Regions from separate parts of the Homo sapiens genome. Here region 2 is linked to region 1. Evidence: promoter capture Hi-C in 16 types of primary human blood cells and fetal thymus (Javierre and others, 2016). All regions are on one chromosome and are shown on one strand. The core of a region is centred on a gene start or on the middle of the fragment in contact, and the rest is flanking DNA. Distances in the headings are between cores, read along the strand shown. Region 1 holds the start of LGALS7B (galectin 7B). Region 2 overlaps RYR1 (ryanodine receptor 1).

Region 1 (4,539 bases), core at 1,752-4,251:
GGATTCCCAAGCCCAGGAGGCCAAGGCTGCAGTAAGCCATGATCACAGAGAGAGCCAGACCCTGTCTCAAAAAAAAAAAAAAAAAAAATTATTGCACAACTAATGAGAAAGATAACACAATTGAATAAGAACTCATCAAGGGCTGGATGCAGTGGCTCATGCCTGTAATCCCAGCATTTTGGGAGGCTGAGGTGGGTGGATCACTTGAGGGCAGGAGTTCAAGACCAGCCTGGCCAACATGGTGAAACCCTGTCTCTACTAAAAATACAAAAATTAGCCATGAGTGGTGGCACATGCTTGTAATCCCAGCTACTCAGGAGGCTGAGGCAGGAGAATCACTTGAACCTGGGAAGCAGAGGTTGCAGTGAGTCGAGATCGTGCCACTGCACTCCAGCCTGGGTGACAGAGCAAAACTCTGTCTCAAAAACAAACAAACAAACAACAACAACAACAACAAAAACCCATCAAGGATGCAATCAAGGATGCAGATCTGTTACCAGAAAGGAGTCAGGACTTCAGGCTAATAATAGAGTGAATGGAAAGCTTTGGCCAGTCAGCAAAGGCACGTTGGGACTTGCAGCATGTTGGCTGCATGTGAAGTTACATCCAGCCACAGTGAAGCGATCACTAAAAAGTTGAGTTCCTGGGAAACACGGTACACAGCATGAGGCGTCAGTAATGTGAGGAGTGTGTTCTTTAGAATGGTCAATAATGTTAGAATGATGGAGTTCACCATTCAAGGGAACATTCTCGGGAACTAACTGAGCTGCGCTGGTGGTGTGATCACCGGACACCCTGCTGTCCTCTCTGTCCGTGCCCATGACATGTCCTTGGCACAGACACCCCTGTGGAGCCCAGGGCCTGGCCGCTTCCTTGGCTGAGAAGCTGTCCCTGTCTAGGCCTCAGTTTTGTCTTCTGCAGAATGGGGGTGCTTGCAGCTCCCACTGAAATGCAGCTGCAAGCCTCCCTCTCTGAGCTCACGTCCCTAGGAACTGGTCCCCCACCTTGGTGCCTTGGAGTGTGTGGGGAGGGGGCAAGAGGCTGGGGGCCTGGGACAAAGAGGGTGGAGGATGGTTCTGGGTCTGGTGTCTCCACCCAAACTTTCCACTGCCAGCCTGCCTCTGCCCAGGCCTCTCAGCAGCCTGCTGGGTGGGGCAGGAGTGCAGGAGTTGGGTGGGGAGTGGAAAAGGTCCAGGAGGGCTGCTGCATTGCTAGGAGTGGTTTATTTTTATTTATTTATTTGTTTGTTTGTTTATTTATTTTTGAGATGGAGTCTTGCTCTGTTGCCCAGGCTGGAGTGCAGTGGCGCGATCTCGGCTCACTGCAAGCTCTGCCTCCCGGGTTCATGCCATTCTCCTGCCTCAGCCTCCCGAGTAGCTGGGACTACAGGTGCCCGCCACCATGCCCGGCTAATTTTGTTTTGTATTTTTAGTAGAGACGGGGTTTCACCGTGTTAGCCAGTATGGTCTCGATCTCCTGACCTCGTGATCCACCCGCGTCGGCCTCCCAAAGTGCTGGGATTACAGGCTTTATTTTTATTTTTTGAGACAGAGTCTAGCTCTGTCGCCCAGGCTGCAGTGCAGTGGTGTGATCTCGGCTCACTACAACGTCCGCCTCCCCAGCTCAAGCAATTCTCCTGCCTCAGCCTCCCAGGTAGCTGGGATTACAGGTGTCCACCACCACACCTGGCCAATTTTTTGTATTTTCTATAGAGAAGGGGTTTCACCATGTTGGCCAGGCTGGTCTTGAACTCCTGACCTCAAGTGATCCACCTACCTTGGCCTCCCAAAGTGCTGGGATTACAGGCGTGAGCTACCATGCCCAGCCAGGAGTGGTTTCTGTTCAGCTCCCACACCATCCCTGCCTTTCAGAAACAGATTTCAGTCCTGCCCGCCCCCCCCCCCCCCCCCGCCTCCCCCAGTCTACTTCCCCAACCCTGGATTCTCTTCTAGAGTCTTGGGCCCAAGCGGGCTATATTGGGGCTGGCGGGAGGGTCCCCACCTTGCTCTGCTTTTGATCTAGGTGGTGATGGAATGCTAGGCCACCCACCACCCTAAAACCCACCTCATCCTGACCTGCAAAATTGGTGGGAAGATGGTAACAGTCCTGGAAGGAGGAACAAGAGAGACTTGAAGGAGAGAAGTGGGACAGGAATACGCGGTAGACAGTTATAGACAGAGACAAACAGAGCCAGACAGCCAGCCCCAGAGACAGAACCCACAGGAGAGGCACGCCCAGAGGTGAGGAAAGGCAGAGGTTGGGGCAATGGGTCCTGCCCGGCTTGTGGAAAATCACTTCCCATCCCAGCCTCAGCCTCCTTCTCTGTACAATGGGGGTGACCCATGCTTCTCTCTGTTGGAATGGTGGGGTCCCAATCAGTGATTTCCTGCATATCCTGGGCAGCCCAAGGGCCTGGGAAATGACAAGCGTAGTCCTAGTGGATCCCCTCCTTTCACCCCTCCTGACTGAGGACTTCCCATGAACCCGGCACACTCCAGGACCCAGGGGTGCAGCACTGAGCCAACCAGGCCGCCCTCCGACCCTGTGAAGTCCCCCTGTCTGGCACTATCGTCGTTGTTGTGGCTGCTGTTCCACTGGAGACTTAGAAGCAGGGATTTCAGCGCAGACATTTCCAGTCTAGGCAGGAGGTTCTCAGCTGGAGAGAAGGGTCTAGAGTTCCCGCTGGGCTTGGCTTCTCAGGACCCAACATGTCTGTGGATAAAATGAGCATGAGAGACTCTCCTGTGTGCCAGGCAGTGGGAAGACAGGGGTGGAGGGGCGGTGGCTCTTATTATCAGCTCCTAGGAGAGGGGCAGTGCACCCGGGCTCTGGGTGATGGGGGGATCAGGGCCCCCAAGAAGAGGCGCCACTCCCACTTCGCCAGGCTTGCCCCAGGGCCAGGGTCCGTGCCAGGTGTGGGTGGTGGGTGGGAAGGGGTGGGGTGAGTCATCAGGGCCAGCCCCGCCCTGCTTTTATTTAAGGTCCCCAGCAGGCCCCACCACCACGGCTGCCCAACCCGGTCCCAGCCATGTCCGTGAGTGCTCCAGGGGCCCGGGGCGGGGCCAAGCAGGGAGGGGGCTGGGGGCTCCTCTTTCAAAGGAGCAAGTGGGCAGTGAGTGTGCCACGGACTGGCCTGGGCTGTGGCCTCCGGGTAACCCCCATCCCGACTGTCCCCTCTACCTCTTTGTGGCTTCCTCTGGGGCCCTCTTTGAGGATCTTTCTGTTTGTCTTTGTTGCTCTCCCCATCTGTTTCCCTGTCTGTTTCTGGTCTCTTTCCTGCCTCTCCGCCACCCTTTCCTCTTCCACTGATTTCTGCCAGTCTCAGCCCTGGTCGGCTCCTCTGAGGGGTGACCCACCTTCTGCCTCCCTCCTTCGGTCTCACCGGCTCACAGTGGCCCCTGCACCCCACTCTTGCAGAACGTCCCCCACAAGTCCTCACTGCCCGAGGGCATCCGCCCTGGCACGGTGCTGAGAATTCGCGGCTTGGTTCCTCCCAATGCCAGCAGGTGAGGCCCCAGGCCCTAGGGGTAAAGGGTACAGGTCTCAGGATCAGCTGACTCCCAATTTTTGCAGTCCAGAAGTAGGGGCCCGAGGCCACCTGTATCCACCAGGCTAGGAGTCCGAGGCCATTTCTGACCTCAAATCTGATGTATTCGTATTTGCCCCCGTGCCTTTGTGGCTGGGGTCCCTAAGTTTCCCTAAGCATTTGAGGTCCCTGGGTAATCTCAGGGTTCCTAGATATAGTCCTATGACTTCCATGTCTGAGTCCCAGGGAACTCTGGAAATACTCCAAGTCCTGGAGACACCCTGGACCCTGGGAGTCCTTGCCAAGCCATCCTTTGACTTCCTGGCTAAGGAACTTCGGGCCTTCTGGATTCTGAGGTACCCTGGAAATACTGGGGTTCCTGGTATTATTCTTTGTCCTGTAGAAGCTGAGGGTTCCCTGAGCATCAGGAGCACCCTGGCTATCACCCAGACCTCCTGGGCAGCTCCCAGGCTCTTTGGAAATGAGGGCACCCTGCCCTAAGCGTAGTGAGTTTGGTCTGGGTAGGTTTCTGCCAAGGGCCTCATGATATTTTGGCTGCCTTGGGAATCTAAGCTCCCTGGTCATTAGTCGCCCACCTCTCCTTCTGCGGTGTGTGCCTGTCTTCAGGTCCCTGTTAATTTGGGGGTACTCTGGGAATGGGGAGTGCCAGCCCATAAGACCTTCACTTTGGTCTGGGCGGTTTATGTTTTGTTTGTTCTTTCGTTTTTTTGTAAGGTGGGGTCTCGCTATGTTGCCCAGGCTGGTCTTTAACTTCCGGGCCCAAGCGATCCTCCCTTCTCCACCTCCCAGAGTGCTGGGATTACAGGGTGAGCCACTGCACCCAGCCAACATTTCATTTACTTATTCATTCAAAGTAAATTGTAGACATCGGTATTCCTCACCCTCAACATTTCTTGGTCTGGGTGGTTTCTGAGCCCTGACGGCCACCATCCCCCTCTTCCAGGTTCCATGTAAACCTGCTGTGCGGGGAGGAGCAGGGCTCCGATGCCGCC
Region 2 (4,444 bases), core at 1,540-4,039, 250 kb before region 1:
AGGAGGCTGAGGCAGGAGAATCGCTTGAACCCATGAGATGGAGGTTGCAGTGAGCCAAGATCGCACCATTGCACTCCAGCCTGGGCAACAGAGCAAAACTCCATCTCAAAAAAAAACCTCGCTGGAATTTCTGGAATCTAGCCACTTTGTTTCCCCCTCATCTCCTCTGGCCAGTCCAATTCCCCAAAAGCAACCTGCCAAAAACCAATTTGGCCAAAAATCAATTTGCCCAAATGGACAATTTGTCACATGCTATTTTCCCACAGGCGCTCTGCAGTGGCTGCCAAAGTTCTATACACGTGGTGGATTTCTGTACTTTAGGTCCAGAAAAGACCTAAGGGAAAAAACTGCCTGGCATTTAAAAATAAATCTATTAGAATCACTTGTTTATTTTGCTTATAAAATCTTTGCAGAGGAAAGATCTGTACAAAGGCCTACAGATTCTTTCCTATCTTAAGCAAGAGTTTTGTTTTGTTGTGGTTCAGCCAATTTAACAAGATTGAGGATGACAGCAAATTAATTACACAACATCAATGATGAGAAATGCAGTCTCATGCAGCAAACCTAGCTTACAACTTTACAGAACAGACAAAATTCTGCACAAAAAACATTCTACCCAATGCCATTTCCTATAACAAACATGTACAGTCTCAAGATTGTGGTTATAACCTTTAGCAGGTGATTAGGAAACCACAGACTACCCGGAAATCAACTTTCGTGACAAGAATTGGAGTAATTAGTAATCTTACTTCCATAGAACCTTCACCCACTTGGTTAGTGCTCTTTAAGGTAACTGATTTGTAAATATCTTTAATCTTCATTCTTTTTCTTTCAACAAAGGATAAAGTATGATCTCTTTGTCTTGAATTTTCAAAAGCTCTTGTGTCCACAACGAGTTTTTCAAGGTTTATTAAATACCTTTGTGCCATGGGACTAAGATTTTTTCTTTTTTTTTTTTTTTTTTTTAGACAGAGTCTCACTCTTGTCGCCCAGACTGGAGTGCAGTGGTGTGATCACAGCTCGCTGCAACCTCTGCCTCCTGGGCTCAAGTAATCCACCCCTCAGCCTCCCGAGTATCCAGGACTACAGGCATGCATCACCATGTCTGGCTAAGTTTTTTATTTTTTGTAGAGATGAGATCTCACTGTGTTGCCCAGGGGATCTCAAACTCCTGGATTCAAGCAATCCTCCTGCCTTGGCCTCCTAAAATGCTGGGATTACAGGTGTGAGCCACCATACCCAGCCGGGACTAAGATTTTCATTCTTTAATTTTAACTAAGATGGAATCAGTCTTTGGGTTTAAAATAAATTTTATTCCTCAGGAATATGAAGTTTTGAAAATGAGAATGTTGTTATGAAAGGGATTGCTGTCTCCCAACATATTTGCAACCCAGTCCTCGCCTAAATTCATGACCTAATCAAATAGATATTTGAAATATCTTTCAAATCTCAGACCCCTTGCATGTCTTGAGGAGTCAGTGCTATTCAAAGCAGACAAAAGGTTTGTCTCTCACTTATTTGCACATGTCTATAACAGGTGTTGTCAGTTGCCAGAATTTTTTTTACAGGAGCTGTGTATCTTTTATTTTTGCATATAGCCCAATTTAAATTAACACAATTTAATTTAACAATTTAAATTAACACAAATAAAGGAGTTAGAAAGCAGGGTTGATGGGAAAACCTGTACCTTTGCTTATAAAATTTTGAATATTTGAGTATGCTTTGTCTATGTCATGAAACTAGGCAAAATGGGCCTTCTGTTGAGCCAACCTGATAGAGCAATTGTGAACTGACTGTAAAAAAGTTAAGGGGAAAGAAAAACGGGGGGCAAAAATACTTTCAGGGGCTGTTAAAACCTTCCTGTGCAACATGATGTTGCTATAAACATTTAAAAGGACTTGGCTGGGCACTGTGGCTCATGCCTGTAATCCCAGCACTTTAGGAGGCTGAGGCAGGAGGATCACTTGAGCCCAGCAGTTCAAGACAAGTCTGGGCAACATAAGGAGACCCTGTCTCTACCAAAAAAAAAAAAAATCATATACTACAGTATAATAAACCTCCAATCATATACTACAGTATAATAAACCTCCAATCATATACTACAGTATAATAAACCTCCAATCATATACTACAGTATAATAAACCTCCAATCATATACTACAGTATAATAAACCTCCAATCATATACTACAGTATAATAAACCTCCAATCATATACTACAGTGTAATAAACCTCCAATCATATACTACAGTGTAATAAACCTCCAATCATATACTACAGTGTAATAAATCTCCAATCATATACTACAGTGTAATAAACCTCCAATCATATACTACAGTGTAATAAACCTCCAATCATATACTACAGTGTAATAAACCTCCAATCATATACTACAGTGTAATAAACCTCCAATCATATACTACAGTGTAATAAACCTCCAATCATATACTACAGTGTAATAAACCTCCAATCATATACTACAGTGTAATAAACCTCCAATCATATACTAAAGTGTAATAAACCTCCAATCATATACTACAGTGTAATAAACCTCCAATCATATACTACAGTGTAATAAACCTCCAATCATATACTACAGTGTAATAAACCTCCAATCATATACTACAGTGTAATAAACCTCCAATCATATACTACAGTGTAATAAACCTCCAATCATATATTACAGTATAATAAACCCCCAACTACCCATCACTCAGCTTTAACAGTTTGCTTTCACAGAACAATGTTTTTTAAATAGTGGGAACCAACCCATCAGACAGACGTTCATGAATCAGTTTCACGCAGAGGTTCTCATTGTAATTGTACACTGGCATGCCTGGGGAGCTTTAAAAGAGACTTAAGCCCAGGTTTTGCCTTTACAGGTTCTAATTCAATTGATCTGGGGTTGGGCCTGAGCACTGGGGTTTTTAAAAGCCTCCTAGTTGTCCTGATGTGCAGCCAAGGTTGAGAGGATGAGAAGCACACACTTCTTCTTTTGTAGTTAACTAGAGCAGTACAGGACAGAAAAGAACAGAATGCATGGCACAGAGTAAGGCAATGTGAAACTTCTCTTTCGGGAATAGGTGAATATAATTTCAGATTGAACACATGTATCAGGTCTCAATGTAAAAAGGATTTCCTCGGCTGGGTGTGGTGGCTTACACCTGTAATCCCAGCACTTTGGGAGGCCGAGGCAGGTGGATCACAAGGTCAGGAGTTGGAGACCAGCCTGTCCAATATGGTGAAACCCTGTCTCTACTAAAAATGCAAAAAAATTAGCCGGGCGTGGTGGCGCATGCCTGTAATCCCAGCTACTCAGGAGGCTGAGGCAGGAGAATTGCTTGAACCTGGGAGGCAGAGTTTGCAGTGAACTGAGATCATGCCACTGCACTCCAGCCTGGGTGACAGAGCAAGACTGTATCTCAAAAAAAAAAGGATTTCCTACCATAGATTGCAGTCAGAAAAGATTAAAAAATTACTGCACAAGAATATAAACTTCACAAGGGCAGGGGCTGGACATACGGCTCATGTCTGTAATCCCAGCACTATGGGAGGTCAAGGTAGGAGGGTTGCTTGAGGCCAGGAGTTCGAGACCAGCCTGGGCTGGTCTCAACAAAAAAATTAAAAATTGGCCGGATGTGGTGGCTCACACCTATAGTTCCAGCTACCTGGGAGGCTGAGGTGGGAGGACCACTTGAACCCAGGAGGTCAAGGCTGCAGTGAGCTATGATCATGCCACAGTACTCCAACCTAGGCAACAGAGGGAGACCTTGTCAAAAAAAAAAAAAAATCCCCCCCAAGGCCGGGGACTGTTTTTTTTTTTTTTACTACTGTATCCCCAGAGCCTAGAATACTGCATGACACATAGTAAGAACGCAACAAATTTGTTGTAGCAAAGAGGATGTGACAATCTTAATCTCGTGAGGATGTAGTATACACTCAATAAAATATGTTGAATAAATGAACAAGTGACCAATCCATATGTTCCCTGGCCTTTAGTAGGTGCTCAATAAATATTTGTTGGATAAATGCATGAATATCCCCAGCACATAGGAGGAATTTGATAAAATTGTTTGGAAACTAACGAGGAACTGAATCTCTATTTCTCCCTGCTACATAGTTGGTGGTCAATATACAAATTTGTTGGAAAAAACTGAATGAATAAATGACGCTCCACCACATTTGACACATAGCAGGCCCTCAATAATATTTATATTTTATTTTTTTATATTTATTTATTTTTTGAGACGGAGTTTCACTCTTGTTGCCCAAGCTGGAGTGCAGTGGCATGATCTAGGCTCACTGCAACCTCTGCCTTCCGGGTTCAAGCAATTCTCCTGCCTCAGCCTCCCAGGTAGCTGGGATTACAGGCACATGCCACCACACCTGGCTAATTTTGTATTTTTTTTAGTAGAGACGGGATTTCACCATGTTGGCCAGGCTGG

Evidence for each region. The method cuts DNA at HindIII sites, captures the fragments that hold promoters and counts their contacts. A CHiCAGO score of 5 or more calls a contact.
Region 2: a fragment that was not itself captured here is called in contact with the fragment with the promoter of LGALS7B in region 1 in 1 of 17 cell types (naive CD8 T cells); the score reaches 6.2 in naive CD8 T cells.

What each region holds. Positions count from the first base shown.
Region 1 is chr19:38,786,199-38,790,737 of GRCh38, forward strand. LGALS7B (galectin 7B) reads left to right here and starts at 3,002. Exons shown (of 4, transcript NM_001042507.4): 1 at 3,002-3,034; 2 at 3,418-3,506; 3 at 4,491-4,539. The coding sequence starts at 3,029. The HindIII fragment of the contact is 12,505 bases long and covers 542-4,539 here.
Region 2 is chr19:38,538,293-38,542,736 of GRCh38, forward strand. The region is part of intron 84 of RYR1 (ryanodine receptor 1); the gene reads left to right. Among named protein-coding and RNA genes, the nearest start is that of MAP4K1-AS1, 56 kb to the right of the region's middle. The HindIII fragment of the contact is 8,158 bases long and covers 1-4,444 here.